3 separate regions of the Homo sapiens genome follow, and regions 1 and 2 are each linked to region 3. The links are contacts of gene promoters, found by promoter capture Hi-C in blood cells and fetal thymus (Javierre and others, 2016). All regions are on one chromosome and are shown on one strand. The core of a region is centred on a gene start or on the middle of the fragment in contact, and the rest is flanking DNA. Distances in the headings are between cores, read along the strand shown.

Region 1 (4,236 bases), core at 1,459-3,958, 360 kb before region 3:
AGCCCATCACAATGTACAGGGACTTCACAAGTCTGGATAAAGTTTAGGGGACACTGAACCAGATGATGGTTTTGTTCCTGGCCAGCTCTAGCACTCGAGGTTTCTACCGTGAGACAAAAGGACGATGTCACGGCCAACATCTGGCCTCAGGATGCTCTAACTTAGAGATGTCAGTTCAATGGCCTTGAGGTAAATAAACCAGAAGGCTCAGGGCCCTGGGTCCCCATAGGCAGATCCTTTCATTCCCTAACAAAGATACTGCCACAGTATTCCTGAGCCTGGGGAGGGGCAGGCTGTGTTCACCCTTTCTAGGGCAGGAGTGGGGGGCAGCAGCTCTCAGGGAGAAAGAGCACCTGGAACTAAGAACTTCCTCAACCACTTTCTGTGGAACTCAGGTAAAACAGCTAACTTCCCCAAGCCTCAGTTTTCTCATCTGTAAAATGGGAATGATAATCCCTCCCTCACAGAGTTATAGTGAGGCTCCGAAGAGACCATGGATATGAAAGCCCAACCTTAGTGGTCCCCAAAATGTGAGACGCTGAGGGGAAACCTGTTAGGGATTACTTCTTTTTCAATCTCTTAGATTTATTTAAGGACAAAATCTTGGTTTGGGACAGCTATATCTTTTTTGTTTGTTTGTTTGTTTGTTTGTTTTTTGAGACAGAGTCTCACTCTGTCACCCAGGCTGGAGTGCAGTGGCGCCATCTCGGCTCACTGCAAGCTCTGCCTCCCGGGTTCACGCAATTCTCCTGCCTCAGCCTCCCGAGTAGCTGGGACTACAGGCGCGTGCCACCACGCCTGGCTGATTTTTTGTATTTTTAGTAGAAACGGGGTTTCACCGTGGTAGCCAGGATGGTCTCGATCTCCCGACCTCATGATCCGCCCGCCTCGGCCTCCCAAAGTGCTGGGACTACCGGCGTGAGCCACCACACCCAGCCTGGGACAGCTATATCTTTAACACCTAACACTTGTTCTTCCTTCCTTTTACTAAGACAGCAAGCCCAGCGTGCAGCAGGCAATCGTATAGAGCCAGAATTCGACAACACAGTTTTGTTCCCATTGGGTTTTTTTTTTTTTTTTTGGTTTTTGGTTTTTTTTGTGCTGTTTTGTTTTGGTTTTTTGTTTGTTTTTTTGTTTTTTTTTTGAGACAGAGTCTCACTCTGTCACCCAGGCTGGAGTGCAGTGGCACGATCTCGGCTTACTGCAAGCTCTGCCTCCCGGGTTCACACCATTATCCTGCCTCAGCCTCCCGAGAAGCTGGGACTATAGGCACCCGCCACCGCACCCGGCTAATTTTTTGTATTTTTAGTAGAGACAGGGTTTCACTGTATTAGCCAGAATGCCCATTGGGTTTACTTTTATGCGTATCTTCCATTTATGGCAAGTGATACTGAATTTCTATTTATGGTAGTGCTATCAAGTGCTCTTTTATAATATACATATGTAAGTTAAAACAGTGATAGTGGATATGGGGTTTTCTGAAGGAGTGACAAAAATGTTCTAATATTAATTGTAATGATGCTTGCATAAGTCTGCCCATACTAAAAATCATTGATTTAAAAAAGAGGCCACTTAAGGAAACTTACTAAACAAATAGCGACACAAAACACAAATGTTTTAGAGTCATGAAGTTAGGCCGGGTGTGGTAACTCACACATGTAATCCCAGCACTTTGGGAGGCAGAGGTGTGTGGATCACCTGAGGTCAGCAGTTCGAGACCAACCTGGCCAACATGGTGAAACCCCGTCTCTACTAAAAATACAAAATAATTAGCCGGGTGTGGTGGCGCATGCCTGTAATCCCAGCTACTCGAGAGGCTGAGGCAGGAGAATCGCTTGAACCCAGGAGGCGGAGGTTGCGGTGAGCCCAGATTGAGCCATTGCACTCCAGCCTGGGCACCAAGAGCGAAACTCTGTCTCAATAAAAACAAATAAATAAATTAATAAAAATATTAAAAAATAAAGTCATGAAGTTAGAGCTTGAAGGACTGAAGTCTGGAAAACAAGGCAAGTAGATCTCTTCACTCCACTCTGTTTGCAGAAGGGAGGTGCAAGGGTTTGCACTCTGCAGTTGAGATTAAAAATTTACTGCGGCCCTTGAACCTAGAATTCTACTTCCTAATCTCATTGAACTCTGGTGTTGGAAGAATCTTTGCGGATCATCTCAACTAACCCATCATGAGACAGATGGAGAAACTTGGCCCAGATGAAGCTTAGTGAAGTTATCCAGCAGACCTTTGATGGACATGAGGCTAGAACCCCGGTCCTGAGCTACCACCACACTTCCCCAGCCTGCCCCACCTGCTTTCCTAGGAGCCTGAGAGCAGGAACACGGCCAACTCCTATCTGCATCCAGCACCCTGACTTCCTGGCTCCCAAATTTATCATCTCCCCTAGACTATGAGATAATTCTGCAAACTCTAACCCCAGCCCGACCCTGGGAGCCTAAAAGAAACTTCAAAGCCACACCCTCTTCCTTCTCCGTCTCCATGACCTTAAGGCAGGTCACAGAGGCAGGACGGCATTGCACTCATTTACTCTTCATTCATTCCACAGGTAAAGACTGAGTCCCTACAATGCTATGTCCAGGGGCAAACCACCATGAGCAAACCCCAGCCTCTCAGAGCTCGGACTCTGGTGGGAGAGACAGGCACTAATCCAACGATCACACCTGCGAATGTATAACTACCATAAAGGGAAATTGAGAGGCGTTATGAGAGAATGTGATGGAGACCTAATCTGGAATACAGGGCATGGCCAGAAGGAGAGGCTGTGTGAGAAGAGGCCTGCAGGTGTCTGAGCTGTCCTGGCCCTGTCATTTCTTCTGCACAAAGACTTAGCTCTTCCCAGGTCAAAACCCTTAGCCTGCCCCTCACCACCCCTCATGGCTGTGATCACTTCCTCCCCACCTCCTCACTTCCTTCCAAACAGTCCGATTGCCTTGCATCCGTTCAGAAGCAGATTGTCCCCATGGTGTGTCAGGCCCCTGCCAGGTGCTGGATGCTCTTATCAGTTAGGGTTCCCCCATAGAAACAGAAACAGTGAGACATATAGACTAAGATTCATTGCAAGGAATTGGCTTATACGATTAGGGGGAGCTGCAGGCGCAAGTGTACAATTGGCAGAGCAGACACTCGGGAAGGCAGAGCTGGAGCTGCTGTCCACAGGGGGAATAACTTCATCAGGGGAACCTCAGTTCTATTCTTTAAGCTTTTCAACGGAATCAGGCCCACCCAGATTATCTAGGAAAATCTCCCTTACTTACAGTCAACTCATTGTGGATTCAATCACACCTACAAAATACTTTCACAGGTTTTTTTGTTTTTTTTTTTTTTGACACAGAGTCTCACTCTGTCACCCAGGCTGGAGTGCAGTGGTAGGATCTTGGCTCACTGCAACCTCCGCCTCCAGGGTTCAAGCGATTCTCCTGCCTCAGCCTCCTGAGTAGCTGAGATTACAGGCGCGTGCCTCCACGTCCGGCTAATTTTTTGTATTTTTAGTAGAGATGGGGTTTCACCATGTTGGTCAGGCTGGTCTCAAATTCCTGACCTTGTGATCCACCTGCCTCAGCCTCCCAAAGTGCTGCGGTTACTGGCGTAAGCCACCGTGCCCGGCCTACTTTCACAGGTATTAACACCTAGATTAATGCTTGGTCGAATTGCTGGGGATGTAGCCCAGCCAAACTGACACATCAAAAGATCATCACAGGCACACAGAGGCAAGAGAAGTTGTAGAACAAGTGGACAGGACTGGCAATCACAGAATTATCTTTGGCAGCCTGGAGGCTGGTAGTCGTCAAACATCCCCATGTTAAATTTTATTCCACTCCAATAGCTAACCTTTACTGAGTGCTTACTCTATGCCAGACACCATTCTAAGCACTTTTGCAAGAAGTCCTCACAAAAAGCAGTTTATGGATTAGGAGACTCAGGCCCAGAGGAGTTAAGTAATTTCCTGAAAGTCACGTAGCAAGAAAGTGGTAGAACGAGGAATCACACTCCATTGGATGCCAGAACCTGAACTTATGACTCGTGGCCGCTCTGCAATGCCGCCTCCGTTTGTCAGTTTATTTGTGCCAGAAGTGGCTGAGCAGTTTATCAGCATCTCTTCATCCTCAGGGATCTTTCTCTTTTTTTTTGAAACAGAGTCTCACTCTGTTGCCCAGGCTGGAGTGCAGTGGCATGACCTCGGCTCACTACAACCTCCTCTTCCTGGTTTCAAGCGATTCTCCTGCCTC
Region 2 (4,239 bases), core at 497-2,996, 300 kb before region 3:
CCATGGTCTGGTGCAATTCTCCATGGCTCTGTCTTCACCTGCAGTGGGTACAACCTTGGGGACTGATCGCTTTATAGTAGGAAGGAAGACAAGAAGGCAGAGCAGGCAGAGGCAGCCCTGGCCTGGGCTCAGGCCCACACATGTGCCAGGCAATCGTCGCAGAAACAACAGTGGTGTATTTGTTTCCTCGGGCTGTCAGAACAAACTACCACAAACGTGGCAGCTTTAAACAACAGAGACTTATTCTCTTACAGTCTGGAAGCCAGAGTCTGTAATCAGATGCCAGCACTTCCTCCGAAAGCTCTAGAAAAGGAGACTTTTTGGCCCCTCCAGCTTCTGGTGGCTCCAGGCGTCCCTTGGCTTAGGGCTGCATCACTGCAATCTCTACCTCCTCTTTACCTGGCCTTCCCCCTCCCTCTTTTCATGTGTCTCTCACAGAGTACTGGTCACTGGACTTAGGGCTCATCTGGATCATCCAGGGTGCTCTCATCTTGAGATTCTTAAATTGATTACATCTGCAAAGTCCTCTTATCCAAATAAGGCCACATTCACAGGTTCCAGGGGTTAGGTTGTGGACATGTCTTTTGAGGGCCACCATTCAACACAGTGAAAGCAATAATAGCTTCTGGGTACGGTGGCTCATGCCTGCAATCCCAGCACTTCGGGAGGATGAGGCGGACAGATCACTTGAGGTCAGGAGTTCGAGACCAGCCTGGCCAACAGGCAAAACCCCATCTCTACTAAAAATACAAAAATTAGCCAGGTGTGATGGTGCACGCCTGTAATACCAGCTATTCAGGAGGCTGAGGCAGGAGAATCGCTTGAACCCAGGAGGCAGAGGTTATGGTGAGCCGAGATCCTGCCACTCCACTCCAGCCTGGGTGACAGAGCGAGACGCCATCTCAAAAAAAAAAAAAAAAAAAAAATGAAAACAGTAATAGCTAACACTTATGGGGCACTCACTATGTGCCAGCGTAAGGCTGAAACTTGCTCATGGATGAGCTCATCAAATATTCACGCACCCCTCTGAGTTAGGTACCACTATCATCGTCACTCACCAAGGGGAAAACTGAGGCTCAGAGAGCTTAAGCAACCCTACCAAGCCTGCTCAGCTGGGGAGCAGAGGAGCTGGAGTTCAGAGCCATGTGGTCCAGCAGCAGAGCCCAGCTCTTCGCAGCTGATGAGATTCTCTGAGGTTCTTTGTTCCCTCAGGGGAAGCAGGGCTGCCTGTCTTCAGTTAAATGCGCTCCCACTGGCCTTCTGGGAGCATCTCTGCGGTGAGCACGGTCCATACATACACACACAGCTGGCGCTGCTCTTGGGTTACTCTGCAGGCCCCGGAGTGAGGCAGCCTGCTTCCTGCTGGTTTCCTGGCATGCATGGATCCCCTGAAAGGGGATTTTGTCTTTCCAGCCTAGAGAGGCTCCATCCTCCTCCAGTGCCTTCCCTAGGCTCTATTCACAGAGGAGACAGGGCAAGCAACTGATACTTACACGGCGCCCCACTTAGGTGGACTGTATTCTTAGTTCCATTTTATAGATTAAGAAACTCAAGTTCCAACTGGGTGCGGTGGCTCACGCCTGTAATCCCAGCACTTTGGGAGGCTGAGGCGGGCGGATCGCAAGGTCAGGAGATCGAGACCATCCTGGCTAACACGGTGAAACCCCGTCTCTACTAAAAATATAAAAAATTAGCCGGGCATGGTGGCCAGCGCCTGCAGTCCCAGCTACTCGGGAGGCTAAGGCTGGAGAATGGTGTGAACCGGGAGGCGGAGCTTGCAGTGAGCCGAGATCGCGCCACTGCACTCCAGCCTGGGCGACAGAGTGAGACTCTGTCTCAAAACAAAACAAAAAAAAAAAAAGAAAGAAAAGAAACTGAAGTTCCATTAAAAAAAAATTCATAGGTTAAAAACAGAAAGAAAGAAATGAACAAACAGGTTTACAAACAGGCCAAGTGGCCAGGTGTGGAGGCTCATGCCTGTAATCCCAGCACTTTGGGAGACAGAGGCGGGCAGATTGCTTGAGCCCAGGAGTTTGAGACCAGCCTGGGCAATATAGCAAGACCCCATCTCTAAAAAAAAACCCAAAAACCAGAAGCCAAGTGGATAAAGCCAAGATTCCAAGTCAAGTCACCTCCATCTGACCCTCTCTCTTTATCAATAAAAATAATCGTGGTTGTAATGGCTATCGTGTTCAAATGATGACCATGTGCAGACCCTGTTCTGCCTGCTTCACATGGATTATCTCATTTAATCCTCAGAGCAACCCTACAATTTAGGTGCTATTATAACCCCATTTTATAGATGAGGAAAGCAAGTCACAGAGCAGGGAAGGGACTTTTCCAAGGTCTCCAGTGGGTGAGCAGAGGAGCTGGGATCCTCCCAGGCTGATAATTCTTGGTGTCCATGAGTCTTTGCAAGAACGTAGAGTCGTAACCGAGGGCTCAGGGCGCTCGTGCGCGCTCTCTCTCTCTCTTGGATACTCTGGTACCCTTTTCCCAAAGGTGTTCTGCCCTTGGCCCTGAGGAAGCCCCCCTTCTCTTTCCCTGCCCATTTCCAGCACCTTGGGAGACGTACTTTCCCCATGGGTCCATGACCAGTGGGGAAACACCTCTCCGTGTCTTATGTAATTGCATCCCCACCATAATCATTCTCATCCTTACTCTCCAGATAGAGGAAAAAAGCCGGTAAGTGACTTCCCAGGGCCCTTGTGCTCATAAACAGTGAGCACCAGGCAAAATCCAGGCCTCTCAAAGACTCCAGCTGATTCTCTCTCTGGCCCCTAAAAGCCCCCGTTAGGAAAAGTTCTCTCTTATGATAGCAAATAAATGCAGAAGGAAGGGTAGAGTTAGAGAACCACCACCCACTTGGCAACCACACTAGCCAGTGAACATTTGAAGAGGAGCAGGATTGATTACATAGTCTCAAAGTATCTCCCTGTAAGATACTCATGAATTACAAAGAGAAACATCATTACTTTATGGTGGAGAAACCTGGCAGACACCACCTTATCCAAGTGATCAAAGTCACATCAGCAATAACAGGACAAGCCAGCGGGGTGTGCCTCGAGATACTGAGAAGGACACAACATCACTTCTGTACAAGCTGAATTGTATCCCCCCAAAATTCATATGCGAAATCCCTAACCCTCCACCCCCATCCCTCAGAATGTGACTGTATTTGGAGATAGAGCTTTTAAAGATGTGATTTAAGATTGAGCCCCTTAAGGTGGCCCTAATCCAATCTGACTGGTGTCCTTAGAAGAAGAGGAAATTTGTTTTTGTTTTTTGGGATGGAGTTTCACTCTGTCTTCCAGACTGGAGTGCAGTGGTGCCGTCTTGGCTCCCTGCAACCTCCACCTCCCAGGTTCAAGTGATTCTCCCACCTCAGCCTCCTGAGGAGCTGGGATTGCAGGTGTGCACCACCACACCCAACTAATTAGTTTGTATTTTTAGTAGAGATGGGGTTTCACCATGTTGGCCAGGCTGGTCTCAAACTCCTGACCTCAAGTGATCTGCCCACCTCGGCCTCCCAAAGTGCTAGGATTACAGGCGTGAGCCACCGTGCCAGCCAGAAGAAGAGGGAATTTGACCATTCAAAGAGACACCAAGGACGCACCAGCACAGGGGAAAGACCACGTGAGGACTCAGTGAGAAGACGGTTGTCTGCAGGCCAAAGAGAGAGGCCTCAGGAGCAACCAGACCTGCCACCACTTTGACCTAGCACATCCAGGCTCCAGAGCTGTGAGAAAAAGACTTATTTAAGCCACTCAGTCTGTATTTTGTTACAGCAGCCAAACGGACTAATACAAGGCCAAGATGCATCAACTAAATCTAATGTAACCAGGAGAAAACACCAGACAAACCCAAACTGAGGGCCATTCTGCAAAATCATCCGGCTGTACTAAAAAATGTCAAGGGTATGAAAGACAAAAGAAGATAGAAGGGCGGTCCCAGATCAGAGGAGGCCAAGAGGCACGCCAGCGAGACTCTGAGCCTGGATTGGATCCTGCAGACTCCCAAAACCACTGTACTCCTTTGCCATGAAAGTCACAGTTAGGACAGTCGGCAGATGTTGAGTAATTGTCAGAGCAGGAGCACCGTCATCTCGGACAAATACTGCCACTTTAAGCTCCAGCTCCCTTTCTAGCCTCATGCATTTCAAGGAAATCACTTCTCTTCTAACTACAACAGCCAGAAAGAGCAGACAGTAAAATACAGATAAGACAGCTCCGGCACAGA
Region 3 (4,212 bases), core at 803-3,302:
TCTGTATTTTTAACAAGCATCAGAAATTATTCTTAAGGTCCAGCACCTTTGGGAAACTAAACGGTCTGAGAGGCAGTATCACAGAGTTAAAAGCACATTAACTTCGAAATAAGACTGATGGGTTACAAATCTCACTTGTGGCCAGACGCAGTGGCTCACACCTGTAATCCTAGCACTTTGGGAGGCCAAAGCGGGTGGATCACCTGAGCTCAGGAGTTCGAGACCAGCCTGGCCAACATGGTGAAACCCCGTCTCTACTAAAAAATACAAAAATTGCTTGCAGTGAGCCGAGATCCCGCCACTGCACTCCAGCCTGGGCGACAGAGCGAGACTCCGTCTCAAAAAAAAATAAATAAATAAATAAATAAAAAATACAAAAATTAGCCGGGCGTGGTGGTGGGCACCTATAATCCCAGCTACTTGGGAGGCTGAGGCAGGAGAATCGCTTGAACCAGGGGGCGGAGGTTGCAGTGAGCTGAGATCACACCACTTCACTCCAGCCTGGGCGACAGATCAAGACTCCGTCTCAAAAAAAAAAAAAAAAAAAAAAAAAAATCCAAACTTGGCCACTTACTGGCTGTGTGACACTAGCCAGGTTATCTAACATCTCCGCAACTCACTTCATCTGTAAAACGGGATCATCACCTATTTGGACATGTTCGCAAAATTCGGTATGTTCAGAAAGCCCTAGAACAGTGCCCAGCATATGAAGCCAAGCAACAAATCACAGCTATTGCTACCTGCAAAACAGCGGCCAGAAACTGCTCAGAAAGTCTACAATGAAAATGTTCTACTTAATGGAAATTACAAAGGCACGGAACCACATTTCCAAGATAATCTAGGTAAAAGGCTTTTCTGGGCACTATGACCGCAAAGAACAAAGACTCAGTTTAGCGTCCAGTATTTTCATTGCAACAGTCCCCGATCCCACCCGGAACTACAGAGTTCAGGTGTCTGCAGGGTTGCAGCTTTGGACAACAAAGTAAGAGTCTTTCTTTCCCCAGTTCCTCGGTCACCACCACCTCCAGCTCTAAGGCCAAAAGTCACAGAACTGAGAGTCTGGTGGCAGCATCTTGGTGCATTAGTAGGAAATGGGACTCCTGGAGCCAATAAAGAGGGTGGAAAAGGCCTTAGGCAGCAAGAGAACTGAGGTACCGCTGGAGCGAAGGGAAATGAGTGGGAAGTTTCTGGAGCTGAAGACTGACATTCCCAGGGTAAGTGAGCCCAGACAAGGTGTAGCTGGGAAAGCACTGCCTCAGCTCAGCGACTAAAACCCCAGGTTGTAGAGTCCACTCTGCCAGTAACTCACAAAACACCTCCAGTTAACTCCTTCTCCCATCCGTAAAGTGGGAAATCGCCTCATCGGCTGAGGAGGAAATGAAGAGGAACCAGGCATATAATGGGTATGTATACATCAGTGCCCTTTGCGCCCAGAGGGTCCCGGGGTAAGAAATGTTCAGTGATGCTGGGAGGTCCAAGTCTGAGTCCTGAACAAAGCCAAAGCTGAAACTCCCATCTCTCAATGCCCTGGAGAAAGGGCACAAGCCAGTAAGTCACAGAGCAAAGTCCCTCCAACCTCCCCTCTGCCACTCGTCTCCCGCGTGCCCTCTGGCAAGTCGGACCCTACTCTTAGGCCTCAGCTTCCCCATCTATACAATGGGCTAATTGGCTCTAATGTCATCAGAATTGTGACCGCAAGATGCTCACATATGGGACGAGGGCCTGCAGAGACGCAGAAAGGAGGGTGGCGGTGAGTGGTGGGGCGGAACTGGAGGTGCGACCCGCCGGGGAGCCGGGGCGGCGCCTCGCGCTCTCCCTCCCTCCCTCCCACCGCGAGGGGCAGGGGCGCCGGCCCCCGGCGAGAGTCACGCGCCCCTCGTGCCCAATCACCGGCCTCTGCCAGGATGAGGCGGGCAGGCGGGGGCGCTCCGGGAGCCACGGCCGGCGCCGCCCCCACCGTCGTCCTCTGCCCCGCCCGCCTGCGGCAGAGCCGGGACCCTCCCCAGTCTCCGCTCACCTGCCAGGGCCGCCGTCGCCGCCGCCACCGCGGGTTAAACCGCAGCCGCGCCCACACTTCCGGGGTCCGCCAGGCCCGCCCCCTACCGGATGTGACCCCCTTGCAACGTCCGGCGCCCCAGTGGCGCGCGTGCTCGCCCCGCGACCCCGTTGGCCGCCCCGCCTCGCGCGCCTCTGAGTTACCACGACATCGTGCCACACACACACGCTCGCGGCCGCCCGGGCCACAACCACGGGAGCGCCCACGAGACCCCTCCAGCGCTCGCCGCACGCCTCGGCCCCGCCCCCGGTAAGAGGCCCCGCCCACTGGGCGGAGACCAGGCCGCTCTGGGCTAGTGCGCCGGCGCGGACGTCCGCCGCCTTCCGAGTGGCCAGCGAGGACTCGCTCTGTACACAGCTCGATCTTGGGAGGCTTCTCAGAGGGACCCAAAAGGAGGGGGAAGCAGATGGAAGCCCAGAACCTAGGAGGAGCCCCAGATGGGCTGAGCTCAGACTGAGGAGCCCCAAGGCCACCACACACTCATTTCCATTTACTAGTTAATCTCTTTCCCCCACCCATTCATTCTACAGAATTACCAGTATTCCCCATCTCCTCCCTTCCCCCCTGGAAACAGGAGAGTCCAGCATAATAAGGAAGCCCCCTCTGCTCTAACCCTTAAAAAAAGGAATCTGAAGTGACCTGATGTTAACTAATCAGGTGTTTTTTTTTTTTTTTCTATTCTGTTCCCTTTCCCACCTATGAAACCCACTGCTCTGCTATTTCCCAGGGGAATTTGAGACCAAATAAGTCTATTTACAATGGTAACTGATGTCAATGTCTAAAGTTTCCAACCTCTCAAAATCAAGAGGTTGACCAAAAGGGGAGAAGTGTCCAGTTTAGCCTAAAGTTGTCTCCTGGCGTATCTTAAGTTTGTCCTAAAGGTTTCTCCGTACATAGTGAACTGGATCCTACTCATACCAATCACAGAGTTTCAGCCAATCACAGGCAGCCACCTGTTCAAACCTTGTTCCAATAAGGCAAATGTCAATCTGTCATTGGTAGGGAACCAAACTGGATCCCTTTGCCCTCAGAAAGCCAAACACCGAAGTATCAGGTTTTTGTAGAGGGAAAGATTTGTTGCAAGTCAACTGGGAAGGAGACATGCTCAAATCTGTCTCCCCAAGCCAGGGGCTGTGACAGGTGTTATAGGCAGAGGGTAATGAGCAGTGATCTGATTGAATCTTGCAATAAGCAATGATCTGACTGGATCTTGCCATGGGATGATGCCATGGCTCAATCTGATTAGATCATGGCTTATACCATGTATCTACTTCTTAATTCTGTTCCGGTTCTTTGGTCTGAGCATTTAGGTTGCGCCTGTGGTTGCATGCTTGGTTCTTCTGGGCACGCTCAGGTTACATAACTTGCAACCTGGGATCATGGCAACTGAAAAAACAACTCACCACTTTATTACACAAAGTTGAACCAGATGGGGCTGGTTCTGCGCTTACATAACTGGTCCAACTGTTTCTGTACCTCGCTTCTGTTTTCTGGACATCTATTTCCTTTTTCTTTTCTTATTTTTAAATTTTAATGATTATTTTTTAATAGAAATGGAGATTCGCTATGTTGCCCAGGCTGGTCTGGAACTCCTGGACTCAAGCAATCCTCCAGCCTCGGCTTCCCAAAGTGTTGGAATTACAGGCATGAGCCACCACGCCCAACCTGCTTTCCGTTTTCTATCCCTAAATGTTATCCAACCACCTGGCAGCCTCAGAGTCACTCTGAACCTATTCTGGTTCTGGGGGCTGACTGATTCACAAATCATTATTTGCTCAATTAAACTCTGTCAAACTGAATTTGTCAAAACTCCTTCTTATAACAGAAGGGGTCCATGAAGAAGGTCAGCTGCTGACCCTTCTGAGACACTGGTGACTCCTTTGAGCGGGGGCATGTTGGTTTTGCAAACATTTCACTTGGTACAGAATGTCAGAGTGACTCCCATTGACAGCACCTGTTTGAAAGCTAGGTTGAAATTGTTTCTGAGGGTTAGGGAGGGCCAGGGCAGATGACCTTAATTTTTTGTCATAAGCCTTTTTGTGCTATGTGATTTTTTTTTTTTTTTGAGACGGAGTTTCTCTCTTGTTGCCCAGGCTGGAGTGCAATGGTGTGATCTCTGCTCACTGCAACCTCCGCCTCCTGGGTTCAGGTGATTG

What was found. The method cuts DNA at HindIII sites, captures the fragments that hold promoters and counts their contacts. A CHiCAGO score of 5 or more calls a contact.
Region 1: a fragment that was not itself captured here is called in contact with the fragment with the promoter of VPS37C in region 3 in 2 of 17 cell types (total CD4 T cells and activated CD4 T cells); the score reaches 6.3 in total CD4 T cells.
Region 2: a fragment that was not itself captured here is called in contact with the fragment with the promoter of VPS37C in region 3 in 4 of 17 cell types (naive CD8 T cells, non-activated CD4 T cells, activated CD4 T cells and 1 more); the score reaches 8.3 in naive CD8 T cells.

Annotation. Positions count from the first base shown.
Region 1 is chr11:60,803,311-60,807,546 of GRCh38, forward strand. The region is part of intron 2 of LOC105369322 (a long non-coding RNA gene); the gene reads right to left. Among named protein-coding and RNA genes, the nearest start is that of MS4A10, 20 kb to the left of the region's middle. The HindIII fragment of the contact is 998 bases long and covers 2,210-3,207 here.
Region 2 is chr11:60,859,924-60,864,162 of GRCh38, forward strand. No RefSeq gene overlaps it. Among named protein-coding and RNA genes, the nearest start is that of ZP1, 5.5 kb to the right of the region's middle. RefSeq lists a silencer at 4,213-4,239. The HindIII fragment of the contact is 7,101 bases long and covers 1-4,239 here.
Region 3 is chr11:61,159,374-61,163,585 of GRCh38, forward strand. VPS37C (VPS37C subunit of ESCRT-I) reads right to left here and starts at 2,053. Exons shown (of 5, transcript NM_017966.5): 1 at 2,018-2,053. RefSeq lists enhancers at 1,516-2,109, 2,110-2,702, 2,443-2,492, 2,503-2,642 and a silencer at 1,693-2,452. The HindIII fragment of the contact is 11,808 bases long and covers 1-4,212 here.